Regions from separate parts of the Homo sapiens genome. Here all the other regions are linked to region 2. Evidence: promoter capture Hi-C in 16 types of primary human blood cells and fetal thymus (Javierre and others, 2016). All regions are on one chromosome and are shown on one strand. The core of a region is centred on a gene start or on the middle of the fragment in contact, and the rest is flanking DNA. Distances in the headings are between cores, read along the strand shown.

Evidence for each region. Contacts are between HindIII fragments. The CHiCAGO score rates a contact against its expected background, and 5 or more counts as called.
Region 1: a fragment that was not itself captured here is called in contact with the fragment with the promoter of MED12L in region 2 in 2 of 17 cell types (megakaryocytes and endothelial precursors); the score reaches 5.9 in megakaryocytes.
Region 3: a fragment that was not itself captured here is called in contact with the fragment with the promoter of MED12L in region 2 in 1 of 17 cell types (megakaryocytes); the score reaches 7.7 in megakaryocytes.

The regions. Positions count from the first base shown.
Region 1 is chr3:150,914,957-150,918,770 of GRCh38, reverse strand. No RefSeq gene overlaps it. Among named protein-coding and RNA genes, the nearest start is that of MINDY4B, 11 kb to the right of the region's middle. The HindIII fragment of the contact is 711 bases long and covers 1,358-2,068 here.
Region 2 is chr3:151,083,887-151,088,015 of GRCh38, reverse strand. MED12L (mediator complex subunit 12L) reads right to left here and starts at 2,352. Exons shown (of 45, transcript NM_001393769.1): 1 at 2,080-2,352; 2 at 991-1,218. The coding sequence starts at 1,089. RefSeq lists silencers at 1,600-1,894, 2,331-2,700. The HindIII fragment of the contact is 3,991 bases long and covers 545-4,129 here.
Region 3 is chr3:150,898,174-150,900,970 of GRCh38, reverse strand. The region is part of intron 3 of MINDY4B (MINDY family member 4B); the gene reads left to right. Among named protein-coding and RNA genes, the nearest start is that of MINDY4B, 5.9 kb to the left of the region's middle. The HindIII fragment of the contact is 2,085 bases long and covers 482-2,566 here.

The DNA.
Region 1 (3,814 bases), core at 464-2,963, 170 kb after region 2:
CTACAGGGCCAACGATTCCAAGGAATCCTGTACTTCCTTGGGAGCACTGAACCACCAGATGGTGCAGCGCATCGTAGGAGCATTTATTTCCGCTGTGCTGTGGTGAGCAGAGGGGTCCAGGGCCCACCATAACCAGTTGGGCATTTGCAACTCCATTTTGTACATTGTTCCACCATGCAGACCAAGGAGACAAGAAGATGAGCAGTCAGTATTTTAAGCCTCACTACGCCCTACTCATTGTCAAGCTTTCTTTCTCCCTTTTCTCTTCTTTTATATTAGCATTACTTCCCTTTTTTTCTTTAAGCAGTAAAAGGTTTATATCATATTTTTAAAGTGGCTTGCTTGAGAAATTGGAAGTTTCTCTGTAGGGCACCTTGAGGGCTTTCCAAATCTGCTCCCTGCTCAGAAGTTCAAAGCTATATCTTCAGTACCTCATGAGTTGCAAATACTCTGGATTCTAAGTCAAATTAATTACTGTCTTCAGCTGAAGTATCATCCTGACACCTAGGGAGGACTGTGTTGATTTAGCAAGCTGATAGAGCAGAGGAAGGCACAGGCAATGCTGATTTAAATCTATCCAACCGTGGAGAGGTGCTCGGTGTTCTGACGGAGGCTAACTCTGCAGCAGCAGCACAGAGGATGCAAGCACAGATCCTGGTAAGGGGGGCCTTCTGCATGTTGGAGTTTATCCAGCAGCTCACGAAGGGAAATGACATAGTCCGATTTGCATTACAGAACAACATGCTGGGGCCTGTCGACGAGGGACAGGAACAGAACCTAGTCAACCAATGAGAACATTTTACAGAAAGTCACCCAAAAGATTATGAGAGTCAGACTCAGACAGTAGATGGATGCAGAAATGTGTATCATGCAAACGTGTAGTCGAGATTTGATGATGGACCAAACGTAAAGAGTGAGGAAGAGACTCTCTATTTGAAGTCGAGCTCTGTTCTGAATTGAAGTCTCTCCTACTGCAGTAGCTCAAATATTAAGTTGATGAAAAAGTAATTGTGTTTTTTGCCATTACATTTAATGCCAAAATCCGCAATTACTTTTGCAGCAACCTAATAAAATCTGTCTTGCTGTTTTTAATGAGTGTTCAATGAAAAAAAAATTTCTATTATGCACAGACAAGCCACCCAAATGTTACAAGTGGATGAGGGGTGAGAATACCGAAGGTAGAAGTGAAGCCTCAAAAGTGGGACCCAAAGTTCAGTGAGGCAATCGGAGATTTCATGCAAGAGTTCAAAATGCTTGGGTGGTGCCTCAAAGGGCTAGAAGCAATAGCCAGTTGAATGAGGTAGAGTAGGGTCAAGGAGCCAGGTCTTCTGCCTTCAAACCCAGTGTAAGCTAAGCTTGCTTGATACTGCATTGTGATGTGGCTACTTACATTTGTGAGGATGCCCCTATGTGGACAAGCACACAAGCAAACTAAGTAGCCCCCTGCATCACACGATGTTAAGCAGAGGTGTGAGGGGTTGAAAGCTCTTCACTTTCTTCAGAAAATCCACTTCCTCCTCTCTTTCCCAATGTATACAATTTCTTTATCAGGGAAAAATATATTTTATTATGTAATGGAATTAAGGCTACACAGTCACTCTAGGAGAGGTAGAGATCTACAAATTCTCATTTTTTTTTTACAGTGTCAATGACTGCTGTTGGAATCTTTTTGAATGACTAATTTTGATTGGAGAAAGAGAATGGAAATGAGGAAGAAACCACAATTTACCTTTCACCCTGAGGGGGTGAAAAGGGCACAGATTTATAAGACTAAAGCACCAAATATTAAACTTTGTCAATTTTGCCAATAATAAAATTGCTTACTTAAGGCTCTTGTAAGAAAGAGAAATTACTCTTAACAAATTTAAGCAAAGAAATGAATGTACTGAAGGAATAAGGTATTTCTCAGAGTAGGAGGACTTTTGACCTCCAGGTGTCAGGAAGGAAGACTCTAGTACCCCAGGTATGTCGGTGGTCTCTCTACAGACCTCAGCCACTAGTAGGACTCTGTCATCGTTATATGACCCTTGAGTCAAAATGCTATATCCCCAAAAGAAATAATCAAGCTTGTTAGGGATAAGATTCCATGCCTGAACCAATGAGCTGTGGTCAAGGTTGGGGTCCTGTGCAGATTCCTGGGGCTCCCTCTGTGAGAAAGGAGCTGGTCAGATTGGGGAAAAGTACACAGCACGCTGGAGCACTCTCCCTGCCCTATTTCTCAGCCATGTGGCTCTTCACCCTTTGAAACCCCAAGTCTCCATGACTCTCTTTGAATCCTCACAATGATCACATAAGGTAGGCTAAGCAGGGACTCTGCTTTGATGCAATGATGCCTTCTTTAGAGGGAGGAAGATGAGGCTTACAAAGGTTAGTCAACTTACCCAAGGTCACAGGTAGACTAAATAAGGGAGGCAGGACTTATCCACATCTCCTGGGCTGCAAAACCAGTTATGTGAATGTGGATATGGGGGACAAGTGACTGAACCAGTAGAAATACATGAGCAATAGGTGAGGGGGCATCCATATCAGAACCACCAGGACTGAATGAATATGCTTACTTGGGCCCCCCAACCAAGCTGTTGACAAGAAGGCAGGGAGAAGGGGAGGAAGGACAAGAATACAGATGGAAGAAAGGGAAAGGCAAGAAATAGGCTCAGATCAAGAGGAAGGTTTCTCGAGTGCGCACGTAAGCACATCTGTCAGGCATCCAAGGCAGAGGCTATTCATGGCCCCCCACCAGTTATCTTCCCTTTCCTATGCAGTAATAGTATTCTCAGTAGAATGGATGGCTGTCCAACCTAAGGCTACATTTCCAACCTCCCTTGCAACCAGAAGCCACATGATTCTGGCCTAAGGGATATGAGCAAAAGTAACATGTACGAATTCGGTGTCACGCCCTTATAGGTCACGTCTTTTCTCCCTTTCCCCTTTCTACATTCTGGAATGCAGAGTTAATGGCAGGAAACAAAGCAGCCACATTGGACCATGAGATGCAAGCCAAGTATGAGGATGGCAGGGCCACAGAATGTAAGGAGCCTGGATGCCTCATAATTGAGAAACCATCACACCAATCCTGTCAACCCAGACTTACTTTCAAGTCTAAGAAATAATTTCATAGCAGTCATAGTAAAGAAATAACAAAATGCCATATATCATGCATGGTGTCATAGTAAACACCCCATAATTGCTAAATGCTTTCATGATTAATATACTGGCTAAAAATACAAAATAAAAAGTAGGTATAATTGGCCGAGCGTGCTGGCTCACACCTGTAATCCCAGCACTTTGGGAGGCCAAGGCGGGCGAATCACGAGGTCAAGAGATAGAGACCATCCTGGCCAACACGGTGAAACCCCGTCTCTACTAAAAATACAAACATTAGCCGGGCATGGTGGCATGCACCCGTAGTCCCAGCTACTCAGGAGGCTGAGGCAGGAGAATCACTTAAACCCAGGAGGTGGACGTTGCAGTGAGCCAAGATCGCACCACTGCACTCCAGCCTGGGCGACAGAGTGAGACTCCATCTCAAAAAAAAAAAAAGTAGATATAATTGATTAGGGAATAAGAATTTATCTGCTCTTTATTTATATATGTAAAAATTATAAATGACTATATACCGATAATAAAATTAATAATGTGTATTCAGTCAATTAAAATTTTTAAATGCTTGAAACTTTTGACACAACTGTTCCTCTTCAGGAAATTTTTTCTTATAGGGAAACTTGTTCCCAGGTATTTTATAAACCCAGCTATGATGACTGTAATGATACATTTTTGGCACTCGCGTGAGCTTTTTCATGGACTAAATTTCTTT
Region 2 (4,129 bases), core at 1,103-3,602:
TAGATTCTCAGAAAGGTAAGTTTTGAAATATGGTCAGTTCGTGTTTAGCTGAACAGAAGATGGGTGGACTGCAGCTGGCAAACTCAGAAAGCACTGCTGGGTAGCAGGTGATCAAAAAAAAAACAAAAAAAAGGCAAGTCCCTGGGCAAATGGTGTAGCCAAAGGTGATCATTATAACTAGAGACTTGTTACATAATTACTTGTTAACTCCTGACAAACAGATACACAGCTACAAAATGCCATGGTTACCCTAGCCATTGAAGCTAATGTAGCTGGTGCAAGAGTCAAGGTGTCTCCAATTAATCTCATTCAAAGAAATAAGCAATCCTGGGAACTATTCCCTCCCAAGGTAACTCGCCTGCTTTTACGTATACAAAACAGCCTCTAGCAATTAAGCCCATTGCCTCTAGAGACGAAAATCAGTGTTTCTCCTTAATTTTAATTTTTAAAGGGCAGAAGGGTTACAGAGGTATATTCAGAGAGCTAAATATTTATCACTTCGATAAAAACGACTTCCATTCCAAACTGGAAAATTTGAAAAGCTTCCCCCTCACCTTCGTCCCTGGCCAGCAAAAGCAAAACGCAAGACCTCAGTGTAGGATGCACTGCATTCCAACATTTTTCAAAAAGTTTACGACGATTTACCGAAGCGGCAAGAAGAAAAATAAAGCAGGCAGAAACGGGTGAGAGCGAGCAAGGTTTCGGCAGGGAAGAAGCCCGAGAAGCGCCCGGCGGCGCCGTGCAAGGCCCGGCAACGGGAAAGCGACCGGCACATGGAAAGCGAGCGCCCCAGTGGAGCGCGGGGACTGACAGCCGCTCGGTCTCCGCCGCCGGGGGGTCGCCCAGCACCCCCAGCCTGGCCCCCGCCTCTAATCCCCCTCCCCGACCTCTTCCACCGCAGCGCCGGCGATGCCCGCTGGGCCAACTTGGCCCCGGGTCAGTGCTGCAGAGCGCGGCCCCGGTTGCCGGGGAGGCCGCCGGCGCCCTTACCTCCTTCTGCTTGGGGTCCTGTGGGTAGACGTCGGGCGGCCCGAGCCGGGGGCGCTTCAGCGGTCTCTGCTCATAGCTGAGAAGCCCGAAGGCGGCCATGATCTCTCATGTTAACCGGCGAAATGAATGAGAGTTGGAGCTGGAGCAGCCGCCTCTGAGCACCAGGGAGCAGCACTTTGCAGACAGACTCCCTCTCTCCCCCTCCTCGCTCGCTCGCTCGCTGTGGCGCTGCAGGCAGGAGGAATAAAGCAGGTTGGATGCTGCCGCTGCCCGGCAGCAGACACGCACTGATGGGGACAGCCTTCGGCGGGTACTCGGCTGCGCTCGAGCCCCGGGACGCACCGCTCCGGTGGCGGCGGCGGAGGGACTAGAGGTCGGCCAGGGTCCTCCGCGGCGCCTGCCTCCTCTGCTCCCCCCTACCTTGTCTCCAGGGGGAGGAGCAGCTGATGGGAACGTGTGACTTTTTTCACCAATGGACCCAAACCCACCCCAGCTGGGCGCAGGATGGGGGTGGGGGTGGGGCACTGGAAAAAAAAAAAAAAAAACTTTTCTTGGCGCCTAGGCTGGTGGCTGAAGTGCTCGCCCAAGGCGAGGGTGGCCCTCCCCTCCCGGGAAGAAGCTGTGGAGCGGACCGCCCCCGCCTCTCTTCCCCGGCAGGGACCCTTCCCCCGCCGCCACGCGCCCCGCAGACCCCGCCACCTGGACACGGACCGGGCCAGTGCAGGCAGAGGCAGGTCTGGAGGGGGCGCGAGACGCAGGGATGCGGCCGGTGGGAAGCGGCCGGTGCCTCCTAGACGCCCGCCAGGTTCCAGTGGCGCATCCGCAGCTACGGTCCCCTCGGCGGCTCCGGGCAGGCGCCGAGGCGCGCTGCTGGCGGTCGCGGCGGCTGGAGGGGGCCGTGCTCACGGTGGCGTGGGGCCGACTTAACCCTTTACAGTCCCTCCAGGGGCTGGGGAAGGGGGTGAGGAGCGATGGCTGTGAGCGCCGACGGGGGCAGCCAGCCCGCAGGCGTCTCGGGCTCCTCCAGCCCGCCGCCTCCCCACGGCCCCAGCTCCTCTTCCCTTCCGCCCCCAACCCCCAACACTTTACCTGTTGGTCCGCGGCTAGCGGGCTGGGGCTGGCGGCGGCGGGGTCACTCCGGCCGCCGCAGCCTCCATCATTCGGGTTGGGATGGGGGACTTGGATTTGATTTTATTTGTGCGGTATCTGCCTCGCCCGGACGAGCTCCGGGAACGCCGCGAAGTTTGCCACTGTCTGGGGGCGGCGAGCGACGCCGGCTCGCCGCCGGCGTTCTCGCCCCCACGGCCCGGGAGCGCGAGCTTCCGAGTTGGCGGACGGCGGCGCGGCGTCCGCACTGAGCATGCCCAGCTCGGCGGCCGGACCGCGGAGGAGTTGGCTGAGAGCGCGGTGAGCGCGCTCCAATCCGCCTCTCCGGGTTTTCGCAGCCGCAGAGCGCGCAGCCCGCGGGCCCCGGCGCCGAGGCTGGCCCTGGGGTGAACCTGGGCGAGGGAGGGAGCGCCCTCTGGAGCCCTGCTCCAAGCCCCCCGCTGCACCCTCCGCCTCGACCTCCCCAGAGGTCGCGGTCCCCGTGGCCTGGGCCGAAAACCTCACCTGCGCCGGGAGCGTGGAAGGGGCGGGGGGGGTGATCCTCCAGGGCAGACCTTGGTCATCCAACCCGCCCTCGCTCCTCGCTTCGGGGCGCGGGCACCAAGATGCTGGGCCACCTGGCGCGAGCTCTGCGAGACCGGAGCCGCGGAGGCGGGCTCGGCCTGTCCTGAGGGACCCCGCGGGAGGCGTGCCCGGGAGAATGCGCCCGCACTTGGCCAAGAATGATGGCTGCCATTTATGGAGCCTTCGCTACGTGCCAGGATCTTGATAGTCAGAATCTCTGGTCCTTACAACCTTCCACGGTCTTACTGTACCCTTTTTATGGATGGAGAAATTGAGCCAGCTCAGAGAGGACCACTCACTTGCCGAAAGCCACGAAACGAGTCGGAATTTGAACCCACGACTGATTCTAAGTTTCTGACCTGTTTTCCCTGACTTGGACTTGGAGGGACTGGGTTCCTAACCTGTCCTTGCCTGATGGACTCACGTTCTCCACGGCTTGAGGCATTCTCGGCCTTCCCTCTCTGTAAGGTGGTAAAGGCAGATTCTAACCGGAAGCCTTTGATACATAGTAGGTGCTCTGGAAATGCTGGTTGAATCTGAACATCAACTTTGATGTTCGTTGACATTTAAGCAAAGGGGGAAGAAGGAGATAAATAAAGTGAAGGTAATGTGGTAGAGGCTAGTTCCTCACTCCTGATCCTGACCTGTGAGCACCTCCAAACCCAGTTTGAGGCTGAGTCAGGTGTTTAGCTTTTGGCTTCCTTAATCTGAACAATTACTTCTAGAGAGCATTTACCTAACTTCACTGGAGGGCATTTCCTGACCACCTTCCCCATCTTGCCCCAGGGTCTTCTCTTCCACTAATATCCTGGGATTAATTTCATGGCTGGACTTGCCCTTGTGATACAGGCATCTATCAAATGTAGCTCCCTTGTTTGAAAGAAAGGACAGTTTTTTGTTGTTGTTGTTTTCTTTGTTTGGTTGGTTGGTTGTTTTTTGAGACAGAGCCTCGCTCTGTCGCCCAGGCTGGAGTGCAGTGGCGAGATCTCGGCTCACTGCAAGCTCCGCCTCCTGGGTTCACGCCATTCTCCTGCCTCAGCCTCCCGCGTAGCTGGGGCTACAGGCGCCCGCCACCACGCCCGGCTAATTTTTTTTGTATTTCTTTTTTTTAGTAGAGACGGGGTTTCACAGTGTTAGCTAGGATGGTCTCGATCTCCTGACCTCGCAATCCGCCCACCTCGGCCTCCCAAAGTGCTGGGATTACAGGCGTGAGCCACCGCGCCCGGCCGAAAGGGTTTTTTTTATTATCTAACTTTATTAGGGAAATTATTAAACATACAAAAAGCTGAAGAAATCATATAAGGAGCCCTCAAATATTCATCTCTCAGCTATAAAAATTAAAGTTACTATTTTTGTTTCATCTTTCTCCCCCATTCCCAACTCACTGACATACACTAGTAAGGACAGTTTTACTCATTGTTGCAACTCAGAAACACTGTATGGGACCTGACACATGGTGAGCATTCAA
Region 3 (2,797 bases), core at 275-2,774, 190 kb after region 2:
CACCACATACCTTTTTGTCTCTCTGGATTTTGAACCACATGAATATACTATTTTTTAAACACACACACAAATTTTAAAAATAGAAAAAGCATTCACAGACATTTGCAAAATCTTCTAGTCTTTCTCTGTACTGGGGAGGCGAGAAACTCTGAGTCTGAATATTCCCACTTATCTACAAACACAAACATGAAGCAACTGGGGACCGCCCCATGACTATGCCAAGGTAATGTTCTCCCTTTGGAAAAAGCTAGGAGACAAAAGATTTAGAAATGAAGTTGATAGGGTGTTAAGAAAGTCCCAGAAATAGAGATAATTGATTTTTCTTTAAAAAAAAATAAATTTGGATTTATTCCCATTATATGGGCCAGATGATCATGAGTCCTTTAAATAGCAGTAGCATTAATTAAACACATCCTGGGAATTCAGGATGACAAGCTTGGGATTCTAAATATGCTTGTTCTAGGGAGGCAGTTTGGAAGCTTGACCAATTCTAATCGATGTTTCAGCAGTGCAGCCACCTGGCAAATTGTCAGAGCTATTGAATCCTAATACCACTCCAGAAATCCTTTTGTTGTCATTCTGCTATTCTTTTCTCTTCTCTGTTTGGATTACGGATGCATGGCATTTCCTGACATTGGCACACACTGTCTCTTTGCTGGGAATCTTCTCTGAAAGTGGAGGTTGGGTAAAGCACCCTACGCACCTTTGCTTTCCTTAGCTCTCCTGTTTCTCACCTTTTGCTGTCCTCTTTCCAATACTACAGCTTTCTTCCTTCCTCCAGCCTGACATCTTTGAACATATGTGTTGGAACAAACTCTGGCCAAGGCTGCTGGCTCAGGTGAAATCGTGGGAAAGGTGAGCATCGCCTCCAGGCTATTCCACCAGCCCCACCTAATGACCTTCCTTCTCTCCAGTGGCAGTTTCCCACCTTCTCCCACTCCCAGGCCCTTTTCTGGACTCAGCCTTGAACACATTTCTGTAGCTGCAATATCATCCAGAAGAATCATAGTAAAAATGTAATACCAAGAGACCAAAATATTCTGGAGAGACTCAAATGAATGAAGCTCTGAAATGGGATAATAGGCAGGGTGTGCTTTTTGGAAGGAAGCACAGCCGGGTGTCCCCCCATAAGGTCTAGCTCATAGATGGGTCTCGACAGGTGTGAGTTAATGAATTCAGTGCCTCTGGATAATCCTCTAGCGCACCTCAGACTAGAGTAGGGGTGTCCTTTGTGTGCCCCTCCAGATGCATGGTCCACTCTTCTCCGACCTACCCTCTGCCCAGTAGAGAGGCTGACCTGTAGCAAGACTGACCTCCATCAGCAGGGTGCCCCCCTCCTCTGGCTTCCTGTTGAGTTTGAGCAATGGGGAGCCCTGAAAGGAAACTGAAGGGAGGGAAGGGAAGTGAAGTCAGGTTGCTCGTGGCTAGCTGAGTCCCTCTCCTCTCATGGCAGTCCTCTCCCCAGGACTCTCTCCTTTCTGGTTCAAGTCACCATTCCTTTGTGTGCTCCTTCAGGTCTAGGGGTCATAATGACTTCCCACTGTTGCTGGGACACTGCATTAGCCATTGTGGTGTCCCCACACCGAGCCCACATCTTTATAAATAGTCTCTGTCTTAAATGTTCCTCAAATTAATTATCTGACTTGAGAATGCCATCTGTTTCCTGCTGGGACGCTGGCTGGTACAAGTTGAAAGGCTTGCATTTGGGTCCTGGCACTGCCATTTACTATATACATGACCTTACATGTGCCATTTAGCTGACCTAGGCCTCTAGTCCTTTCACTGTAAAATGAAAGAGCCAAATTAGAACTTTAAAACTTCAACAGATACCTATTTTGAGCCTACTACATACCAGGCACTATGCCAGATGCTAAGAAATTGATGGCAAACATGATAGAACCAAGAGTCTACTACTCTGTTAGTTGGTCTAGGATAGAAATGTCTTCTTAGAACATCTTGGAATCTCTGATTCCATGATGGTCTAGTAATTCATAAGGCAAGAAGAGATTTAGGGAAGGAGCTTTAAAGAGGATTAGTCTACCTCAAGTTAGGGGTGGGCAGGTGGTCACAGGGAAGCTCTAAACCCGGGACAAAGTACAAGGCAGTCAGGGTAAGAACATTAACCCTGTTGGAAAGAATGATTCAGGGCCTCTATCTTTGAATGTGTGTATAAAATGTGTGTGTCTAAATGATGATCACCATCACTGTCATCATAGCAATCAAATGGAACAAAGTGCCAGGAAAGAAAGGAATTCTTCACAAATATAGAATACTAGCAAAGCACAAAGAGAAAAACTATAAACCATGCTTGATTATGTTAATAATAATCATGGCAGCCACTTATGAGGACCATTTACCATCTGTTTCTAGTTACTAGACAGCACAACAGCACATGTAATTATGTGTCAGGTTAATCTCATTATAAATAATATCTGATATTGGAAAGTAAATGTTACACAAGTAAGTTGGGTCATCTTTGTCACACTGGCCAACGGGGCCTGGCCAGAGAGAACTGCAGCCCCTCTGTTTTTAGACCTCCTCAGAGGGACAGCTGGAGAGAGAAGCTTCTAAGTTGGAGGTGGGAACTGGCAACAGAAATAAGAGTGTGGTTTGGCTTGCAGAACTTTTAAAATTGAATTTAAATTCTAAGCCTTCTTAGTCTCAACGGTCTTAATCTTCCACATTTATACACAGCTTTTCCTCTCTTATTGCTGCCAGTCTCTGGTCTTTTTCCATCTGTGTTGGGACTTTCTTCCATACGGCACAAGATGTTCCTGCATAGACAGGCTGTGTTTTC